Linked DNA regions of Homo sapiens: region 2 is linked to region 1. The links are contacts of gene promoters, found by promoter capture Hi-C in blood cells and fetal thymus (Javierre and others, 2016). All regions are on one chromosome and are shown on one strand. Each heading gives the region's core, a stretch centred on a gene start or on the middle of the fragment in contact. The rest is flanking DNA. Distances are from core to core; before and after follow the strand shown.

Region 1 (5,048 bases), core at 2,509-5,008:
CAAGCTCCCACCCATGCTTGTCTTATGGTTCAGATACCACCTTCTCCAGCTTTCTCTGACCCTCCCTCCCCAGCACACCCCGCTCGGGCTTACCCTTGGGGCTGAGGGCCAGAGCCCCCAGCCGAGGCTCCAGCTGGAACATGTCTGGGGAAGGCTGGGCTGGAGCCTGGCTCAGGATGTGGAATCGAAGATCCGAGTTGGCTGTGCCTGGCTCATCCCGGTCTGAAGCCTCAAGGAAGAGGAAGGGGATGCCTGGTTCACGGTGGGAGGGCAAACTGTAAGGGATAGAGAGGGTGGGGAGAGTCTCCCATGCCTCTCCTATTTCTCCTCTGTCCTTTCTTCCCTATCCATTATCACATCAGGACTCCGGAGATGAGCCACGGCTTTTCGTCCTACTTCCCAGATGAGCAAACTGAAGCCAAGAATGGATGGCACCCTCAGTGGAGTAGGGAGGAACAAGGTGGGACAGAAATGGTACAGGATGGGCCAGGTGCAGTGGCTCATGCCTGTAATTCCAGCACTTTGGGAGGCTGAGGCAGGCAGACCACCTGAGGCCAGGAGTTCGAGACCAGCCTGGCCAACAAGGCGAAACCCCGTCTCTTTTAAAAATACAAAAAAAATTAGCCGGGCATGGTGGCGGGTGCCTGTAATCCCAGCTTCTTGGGAGGCTGAAGCAGGAGAATTGCTTAAACCTAGGAGGTGGAGGTTGCAGTGAGCTGAGATCGCGCCATTGCGCTCCACTCCAACCTGGGTGACAGTGAGTCTCCATCTCAAAAAAAAGAAAAAAAGAAAAGAAAAAAGAGAAAAGAAAAGAAAAAAGAAATGGGACAGAAATGGCTGCCCTGTCCTATGCCAACTGTCTGGCCATCTCTTCGCTCTCTGCTGTTCCATCAAGGCCCACCTGACCTTACTGTAAATTGGCTGCCCTGGTCACTCACCAGGCCTGGTACCCCGGCTCAGCCGAGCTCTGTAGATGGCTTGAGAGAAATGGGGCACCTGGTCATTCTCATCCTTCACGTGCACAAGCACAGGCTGTGGACCCCACAAGACATGTCCATCCTGCATCTCCAGGGTGACCTGGCAGGGAAGGGGAGTCAGCGTCTGGCTCTGCCTTGCCTGCTCTCCCCTACACCTGGCCCAGCCATACCTGTAGCTGGTACTCTGCCTGCTCCTCTCGGTCCAGGGCCCTGGTCACCAGCAGGAAGCCAGAATCTGGATCCATAGCAAATGGGCCCTCAGTTGCCTTGCCTGAGTCCCCTGACAGCACGATCTGGCCTTCAGCCCCCTCACGGGGCAGCGGCAACTGATGGAAATGAACAGAAGTGAAGGGAGCGGTGGCCAGGCCTGGGAGATGCCCCTCCTCCACCTGATGGCCTCATTTTACATGTGGGGAAACTGAGTCTCAGAGACATCTGGCTCCTGTCAGAGGTCACACAGCCAGTAAGCATCAGGACTGAGACTCAGAGCCAGAACTCTTTTCCCTGGACCTGATGCTCCCCAAAACTCTCTGCCCTTCTTTCTGAAGCTTGAAACCTCACCACCGAGATTTCGTTCTTTAATCTAAAGCTCTGCTCTCCACTAGGATTAAAATCTGTTAGTCATTCCCACTGCAGGTTGAGCATCTCTAACCCGAAAATCTGAAATCTGAAATACTCAAAATCTGAAACTTTTTGAGCGCCAATATGATGTGACAAGTACAGAATGCCGCATCTGACCTCATGTGACAGGTCACAGTCAACACATAGTCAGAACTTTGTTTCATGCACAAAATCATTAAAAATATTCGCCCAGGAGCAGACTCACACTGGGCTCTTGGCCACTCAAGGATTCTGTCGGAATTTCACCTCTGTACTGTCAGCTCCTTCTGGCCATAGCCTCCCCAGCTCGCAAATCCCAAAGTGGTAATCCCAGCACTTTGGGAGCCCAAGACGGGCGGCTCACCTGAGGTGAGGTGTTCAAGACCAGCCTGGCCAACATGGCGAAACCCTGTCTCTACTAAAAATACAAAAAAAAAAAAAAAAAATTAGCCAGGAGTGGTGGTGCATGCCTGTAGTCCCAGCTACTCAGGAGGCTGAGGCAGGAGAATCTCTTGAACCCAGGACGTGGAAGTTGCAGTGAGCTGAGAACATGCTACTGCACTCCAGCCTGGGCGACAAGAGCGAAACTTCGTCTCAAAAGAAAAAAAAATGTATAACGTTACCTTCAGGCTATGTGTATAAGATGTATATGAAACATAAATGAATTTCCTATCTAGATTTGGGTTCCATTCCCCAAGATATCTCATGATATATATGCAAATATTCCAAAATCTGAAGAAAAAAAAAAATCCAAAATCTGAAACACTTCTGGTCCCAAGCATTTCAGATAGGGGACACTCAACCTGTGTAACGTGTACATACTCTCTGGAAAGCAGGATTTCAAAGAGAAACAGCAAGAGGAAGGGTGCCAGAGGAAGGAGAAGCAGGACTTTGCGGGGAGGGATCCCCCCGGCCCCAACCCCAGCTCTCCGGCTCACCTTGGTCAGGTATAAAGGGAAATTTCCACCATAGTTTTCTGGAACTTCCACAGACAGCTCTGCAGGCTGGGCCTTGGGGAGAGCCTGTGGGAGGATTCTCACCTTGTCACCAGGCTCTATCTTCCTGCGTGGGCACTGAGACCCAACAGAAGAGCGGAATTTCCGCCCCTTCCCAGGGCCTGGCTGTACCTTAGTCCATCCACCCGCGCTCTGGTCTTTGACCTCCTCATCCCACAGTGGCTCTATAGTCCCAGCTCTGACCCCTCCCATGCCTTGCACCGTTCTCACGGTCAGTGCAATTGGTCCAGGTGGAGTTGGGGGCAAGGGTGTCAACCCCCAAAGCCAAGACCTGAAGGAGAGGGGGCAGGGCCTAGCTCACCTGGGGGACGGAGACACAAAGCAGCCACAGCCAGGCAGGGACCATGGTCAGGACAGGCCTGAGGGACACGGCAGTGAGGATCCAGCCCAGGTGGGTAGGGAGGGGCTTTCCATCCCACACACACAACTAGTGGGATCGTACTGCAGACTAGTCTTCTCTTCCTCCCCTCCAAAGGAGCTGAGGCTCTCCATCTCCTGCAGGGTAGTGCCCTGCTCCTCGGCCAGGCCCACCAAGGCCCCCAGGCCCAGCCACCCTGCTTCTAGGCTCTTGGTCCATCAAGCACTCTATCAGAATTTCACCTCCAGACCTCCAGCTCCTTCTCACCATAGCCTCCCCAGGCCGCAGATCCCAAAGTGGTAATTTTCTAGCAATCCCCCAAATCACAAAAGTTTGAAGCTGGAAAGTTCCTGAAGACTTGGAGGGTCACTTCCTGAAGTCACCTCTTGTTGCAGGCAAGGCCTGAATGCTGGGGTCTGGCCAAGGTCACAGAGGACTTGACCACAGGAGGAGTCCTCCTAGCTCAGGGCCTCTGGGACTGTCCTGCCTCCCACTGCCACCTTCTAGACAAGGAGAACCCCCGGAGCAGGAGCCCGGCCCTTGTCTCATCATTTTCCAGCCCTTGTCATGGAGCTGGGCAGGCAGAGCAGCGACAAATCGACAACCCCTCTAAGATGAGGCCCTGGGAATTCTTTCCCAGATGGCGAGGACAGGGCAGTGTTTCTCCTTTCCCCACCACCAACCTCAGCCTCAGCCATGCCCTCCCCTCCACTCCCAGCCCCTCACCCTCCAGCGCCCAAGACTGGCTCCCTTGGTCCAGCTGCCAAGCAAGAAGAGAGCTCCTTCTCCAGGGGGCTCTGGCCAGGCTGGGCTGGGTGGGGCAAGGCAGGGCACTTGAGCAGGTAGGAGGGTTCAGCCACGCTTGCTCAGGAGTGGAAAAGGCCACTGGGCCCACAGCAGCAGGCCTGGCCCCGCCCAGCCCCCCAAGTTACTCATTGACTTTGGAAAGCCAGGAGCTGCTCAGCATCCGTGACTGCCAGCTCCAGGAGGTGGGGAGATGGTTGGCCTGGCACTCCCTCGACCCCAGCACAGCCCAGGAGGTATTCCTTGGCCCTCTGGTTCTGGACGTTACTTTTTCTGTGGCTCCAGACTTGGTCTGACTTATCTCCCAGGCTCCAGTGTCTGCAGCCACACCTTTTCACACTCTGTTCCTTTTGCATGGAACACCCTTCCCACTCATTCATCTGTGTGGTAAGCACCTGCTCATGCATGCTTCAGTGCTCAGCTCAAATATTCCTTTTTCCAGGAAACTTCCCCTATGTTCCCAGGCTTGTTCAGGAGCCTCCTCTGGGAATGCCCCTCCCCCTCACACCATGCCATGTGCTATCTCTATTAATACACAGAGGACACCAGCTTGTCATTGTCTGCCTCTTCCATTAGATTGGGAGCCCTTTGAGAGCAGAACTCAGGGACTCAGGAATGACCTGGCTCTCATTCTGCCCTGGCAGCTCCGCATGGCTTGTGGAACTAAGACAAGGAGCTGGAGGTTGCAAAGGATGGGTGAGCAGTACATGAGTGGAAGTGGGTATTGGGGCTCCAGACCACCCCCCCCAGGGGGACCTGTGGTGGGGGAGTGCAGCAGCCTATGAGCTCCCGAAGTCCTTACACTGGCCACTCAACAGTGACAGGGCTGAGACAGTGGGCAGTCTCATGCCCCTAAGAAGATTAAACTGGCTCAGGTGACCTTGAGGGAGTTGCAGGGCTGAACAGGGGCTCTCCCCGCAATGAGGGCAGCCAAGCAGAGCCAGGAGATGCTTCTGGGGCCTGGGAGTCTGGAATGAGGGGAGAGGGTGGGAAGAAGGTCTCCAGTCCCTCTCCAGCCTTGGAGCTTCCCATGGTCCCCACGAAGTCCTTCCCACTGTACATCTGATTAGTCTCTCTCAGGCCAGAAGCTACCCCCAGCTGCCCCCAGCCTTGTCACAAGCTGAGTGCCTGCTTCAGGGTCACTCTGGCACCCAGCCTGGAGCAGTGTAGTGTGGGGAGGTTGAAGGGGGTTTCACACGTGTTAAGCTCCTGCTCTGTGCCCAGCACTGCTCTGAGCACATACCTTCATTATGCCACATACTGCGTTCTGAAGGGGCATTGGGCACATGCTGG
Region 2 (4,763 bases), core at 320-2,819, 330 kb after region 1:
CCCCCATCCTGAATGGGAGGTGGCCTCCAGCTGCACACGCTTCTTCCAGGCACACCTCAATTTGCCCCTCTGAATAGGGCAAGAGAAGCGGGGGCTGAGTCAAAACTGGCGGTGAGCAGTGTCCTGCATCCTTCCAGCCATGGCCTTGAAGCCGGGGTTCTGGCCTGGACACGTGCCACTCTCCAGGCCAATAGTCTCACCACCCCTCCCGCCAGCGCTCAGAGGCGGGGCTGGCCGCAGCGCGAGGAATGCGGGCTGGGGGCCCGGGGCACATTCCAGGGAAGACCCCAGGCCCAAGGGGCAAGTTTACGCAACTCGCCGCCCAGCTGAGGCTGGGAGCAGGGGAGGGCACCCACCCCGACTCTCTCTCCTCTTCTCCAGCACTGGAGGCGGCCGGGCTGGTGGGGAGCTTGTGGAGGTGGTAGTGCGCCTCCCAGAGTCCTGGCCCGGAAACAGCGCGCCGGAAAGGGCTGCCTGCGGGGGGCTGACGGCGGCGAGAGGGAGGGGAGAGGAGGTAGGCTGGCCATCTGGAAAAGGGCCTCTTTCCGCACTGTGCACAAGTCCGCTTCGGGGCGGCAGCAAAGTAGGGCAGGCCGGCTGTTTAAAATTAGTCCGGCCCTCCCTCTCACTTTCAGGCGCGGGCCGATGGGCGGCGAGTGTCCGGGGGTGGGGGCGGGAGCGGTGACTCAAAGGGCTTTTACACCCGTGCAGCCTCCTGCGCTCTGCGGATCCCGGGCCAGACCGCTTCGCGGGGACTCCCCTCACCCCGTGAAGTCTCTCCTCGGCCGGCACTCCCATACTCCCATTGACCTACAGGGTCAAGCCCCAATCCAGCTTCCTGACACCGCAGGAAACCTCTGCCACCTCTAGTAGTCCGCCTCGGGCCCGCCCCTCCTCGTGGTCCCGCCCCCACCTCACCTGAAGCAGGTGGAAGCTGGTCCCTCCCCAGCTCCGCCTCCAGGGTCCGCTACAGCCCAAGCGGCTACCGTCACTCTGACCAGGGAAGCCACCCTGGCAGACCGACGGCGAGTGGAACTCGAGCACCTCCCCAGGTGCGCCTAATTCGAAGGGCAGTCAGAATGGCGGAGCCAAGTTCCTGGCACCCCTCTTCAGTTTCCCCTCAACTTGAGAGGGGACTCCCCCGCAGGCGGGGCAGAGTGGACCCTGGGACCCCAGCCCAAGACTTTTCCGGAGAAGAACACTCGCTCCAGCCTCTTCCCGCGGAGCACCTCCCACCAGTTTTCATGGCGCCCACCCTGAACCCCCGATCGCCCCAACCTTTCTCCGGCCTCCCTCACCTTGAGCGGCGCTCCCAGCAGGCGGTGCACCGCGGGTATCTGCGCGCCCAAGGGCAGCGCCCCGTCCAGGCTGCAGGTGGGGGCCCGGCGCGGCTCCGGAAAGTTGGCACATGCGAAGGGGTCGGTGTCTTCCAGGTACTGCACCCTCACGGTCACCACTGATACCGGCTCTCCGTCCCCGCGGTCTTCCCCGCCCGCCATGGCTCTGCGGCCGGCTCACGCAGCGCGCCTCCGAGTCCCGGCCCCAGTGCAGCTTCTACTCAAAGCACACTGTAGCTCCGCGGTTCGGGCCCGGCCGGACCGGACGCGGCTGGAGGGGCGGGGCCAGACGGAGGCGGGGCCGAGGAAGGGGGTGGAGCCAAGATTAGTCCCCGAGTGCGCGCCAGGAGGTAACCACTGCCGGAGGCGGGGCCGCCGCTAGCCACTCACAGGGCCCAATGGGAATCCCGTTAGTTCACTGGCTAGGAGGGCGGGAAAAACCGAGCTCGCGCCCCACCTTCGAGAACGCGCAGAAGGCGGGGAGGCTTTCTTTGGTCTGGGGATAGTGAGGCTGCGTTCTCTTTGAGGGGTGTTAGGGCAGATGGGGCAGAAGTTTCTTTAGATAGTGGCCGGCCAGGTCTCTCTCAGTTGAGGGACAAGATAGCCCTCATTCCTTCCATTTGAGGGGTGAGTCCCTGTGGTTTCCTCATTTAGGGAAAGCAGTGAGAGGGGGTCCCTTCAATTTGGAGCAAGAAGTGAGAATAAATTCCACCCAGTTTGAAGGAAGAGGTGGGATCAGTTCCCTTTAGTTGTGGGAGGAAGAGGGAAGGATGCCCTTCAGTTTTCTGGGAAAAGATTGGGAGGAGTCAGTTTGAGGGGGCAGATAGAACACGTTCCCCTCAGTTTTGGAGAAAAAGTGGGATGGGTGCCCCTCAGCCTGAATGAAAAGTGGAGACGGTCCTCCTCTGTTTGGGGCGCTATGAGCCGAATGCCCCTCAGATTTGGAAAAAGTTGGGTGCATCTCGCCTAGTTTGAAGGGAATCAGTAGGCTGGGTTTTCCATAGGTTCCTGTCAGCTTCATCAAAGAGATGAGACAGTTCTCTGTAGTGTGACTGAAAGGGAGGGCCAGGTGCCCCTTGGTTTGGGAGATGAAGAACAGCCTCCCTCTTCGCCTGGCACGAGCTGGGCCAGTCTGGGCCTTAGGGTTTCTGGGACGTTGGGGGCAGCGTTGTCCGTCACTGCTTTGGGGAGCGTCCAGTGCGCGTGCGCAGCTCAGGTCCGGGTGGGGGCCGGCAGGGGGTCCTGGGCTTGGCAACGTGGGCGGAGGGCGGCCAAGCACGGTCCCCTGCGTTTTGCACCCGGCCGCGCCTTGGTCCCAGGGGGGTGCTGCTCGCCGCACAGCAGCGCTGGCCGAGGAGGAGCCGTGCCCCTCCCGTCCTGACCGCGCCCCCCGCAGACCCCCGCCCTTCCCGCTGCGGGCTGCCCCAGGGGGGCCGTGGCCGCGCACCGCTCTGGATCTGGTGGGGGCGGTTTTGGGGAGGTTTGGGGGCGCGGACTCGAAGGAGTAGGTTGTGGAACTTGGGGGAGAGCTGCACTGGGGAATTTCCGGAGCTGGGACTGATTTAGGGAGGAAAGAGGAGAGAGTCCCCGACTACGAGAGTCCGAGGCAGGGTCTCGGAGCCTGGACCTGGCTTGGGGGTATCGGAGCCGGGATTGGGGGGAGCGGGCCCCACGTGCCTGTGACGCGGGGGCGCCCGGTAGGTGGCGGCGGCGACGCGGGGCCGGCGGCCGTGCGGTGCCGGGAGGGCGGCTGGGCAGGCGGCAGGATGCTGCGCGCCGCCCTGTCCCTGCTCGCGCTGCCCCTGGCGGGGGCGGCCGAAGAGCCCACCCAGAAGCCAGAGTCCCCGGGCGAGCCTCCCCCAGGCTTAGAGCTCTTCCGCTGGCAGTGGCACGAGGTGGAGGCGCCCTACCTGGTGGCCCTGTGGATCCTGGTGGCCAGTCTGGCCAAAATCGGTGAGTGCGTGTGTGCGTGCGCCAGGCCGACCGCCAGCGGCGGACCCGCCCCCAACACCCCCACCTCCTCGGTCCTCAGATTGGGGCTGGCTTCTTGCACGGTGCTGGGACTTAGGTTTGGATTCCACAAATCCGGGCTCTCGCCCAGTTCCTGCATCGCTTCTTGTGGGTCCCAGGTCCCTGTCTTCTCCCCTGGGAGCTCTGAGGATTTGCCTTTCTGAAGGGCTGTCCCCCGCTCTCCCCAACTCCATCTGTAGGCTCCTTTGCCCTCTCCGCTCCCCTCTTCCCCTTGCAGTAGGCCCTCTTCAGTCTGGTCTCTCCCCCACCAATCCCTAGCCTCCCAGAAACCTCTGTCGCTGGTGAGGATGTGTGGGGACATTGAGGGGAGGGTGTTCTCCCAAGAACACAGGCATCCTGGTTCTGAAAAAGCAGCCTTCCCTGGAGACCATGTCCGAGTGTCCATTCCCTTGGGAAACTACACTGCCACTTTTCCTCCAGCTCTCCCCTGCTCCCCACTTAAAGCTGCTGCCTTCTTGTGCCTGTGTATGGGTACCCCCCCAACCCACGTTCAGGTCCACATTCTTCTCACTTCAGGGTATAAGAAACTTCCGTGTATCGGGGCCTTCCTGTGTGCTGTCTACCCTAGATGCTTTCATACATCCGACCTCTTCAGTCCTGACAGCATTGAAGGCTGTGCTTCAGACTTCTTTTTCCCTGAATAGAGCTGCTTTTCCTTGCATCTGCTCCTTCCTCCTCCCTTCTGAGCAGCCAGTGGTCCCTCCTCCCACCAGAGACCCTCCTCCTTCTCCCTGTTGTGCTGGCTCTGCTGTGGGGGTGACTAATTATAGCTGAGCGTTGCTACTCTCTCCCCATGGATGCTGGCACAGCCTGTACTCCAGTCTCACCAATACAGCCTTCATGGAGGAATCACCCAGAGCCTAGAATTTGCCCCTCTTCTCCCACATGGACACTGCTAGGGGGTGAGGGGGCTGGGCAGGAACAGAACTCTCCACTCTGCTGTGGCAGCCTGAGATTAATAATGGAAAGTGGAACTCAATATGCCTTCCGGGAGCGTGGTTCTGTGATGGGGCTTGGATCTCGGGGCTGGGGTTAATGCATGAAGAGATGAAGATGAAATAGGGTCCCCGAAGGAGAGAAGTGGGAGACCAAAGTAGGGACAAGTATGGAGAGATCTATGACCATGTTTACCTTAGAGGTCCAGCAGCAATGAGAGTAAGAGTAGAAAGAGCCTCAGGTTTGGAGCCAACGATTGGGTTTGCTAAGTCTGTGAGTTGCAGAAGAGTTCCTGTCTTAGGGTTTATAGCAAAAACTGTAGTTTTCCCCATAAATCATGGTTCTTTTTCTAGTTTGGATGACATTTCCTATGGAAGTAAGAGAAGAGAGCCTCCTTTTCACAAGTCAAAGAAAATCCTCGAACAAGAGAAAAGGCAGAGCATTCAGGAACACCTTCCC

Evidence for each region. The method cuts DNA at HindIII sites, captures the fragments that hold promoters and counts their contacts. A CHiCAGO score of 5 or more calls a contact.
Region 2: the fragment with the promoter of FHOD1 here is called in contact with the fragment with the promoter of CDH16 in region 1 in 7 of 17 cell types (neutrophils, non-activated CD4 T cells, naive CD8 T cells and 4 more); the score reaches 7.6 in neutrophils.

Annotation. Positions count from the first base shown.
Region 1 is chr16:66,915,127-66,920,174 of GRCh38, forward strand. It overlaps CDH16 (cadherin 16), which reads right to left and starts at 3,759. Exons shown (of 18, transcript NM_004062.4): 1 at 3,678-3,759; 2 at 2,895-2,952; 3 at 2,516-2,599; 4 at 1,148-1,303; 5 at 939-1,077; 6 at 94-252. The coding sequence starts at 2,939. The HindIII fragment of the contact is 16,817 bases long and covers 1,524-5,048 here.
Region 2 is chr16:67,245,912-67,250,674 of GRCh38, forward strand. FHOD1 (formin homology 2 domain containing 1) reads right to left here and starts at 1,570. Exons shown (of 22, transcript NM_013241.3): 1 at 1,299-1,570. The coding sequence starts at 1,499. It overlaps SLC9A5 (solute carrier family 9 member A5), which reads left to right and starts at 3,068. Exons shown (of 16, transcript NM_004594.3): 1 at 3,068-3,290. The coding sequence starts at 3,104. RefSeq lists enhancers at 1-404, 2,805-3,306, 3,307-3,806 and silencers at 508-607, 1,508-1,877, 2,520-2,609, 2,630-2,719, 3,020-3,129. The HindIII fragment of the contact is 13,502 bases long and covers 1-4,763 here.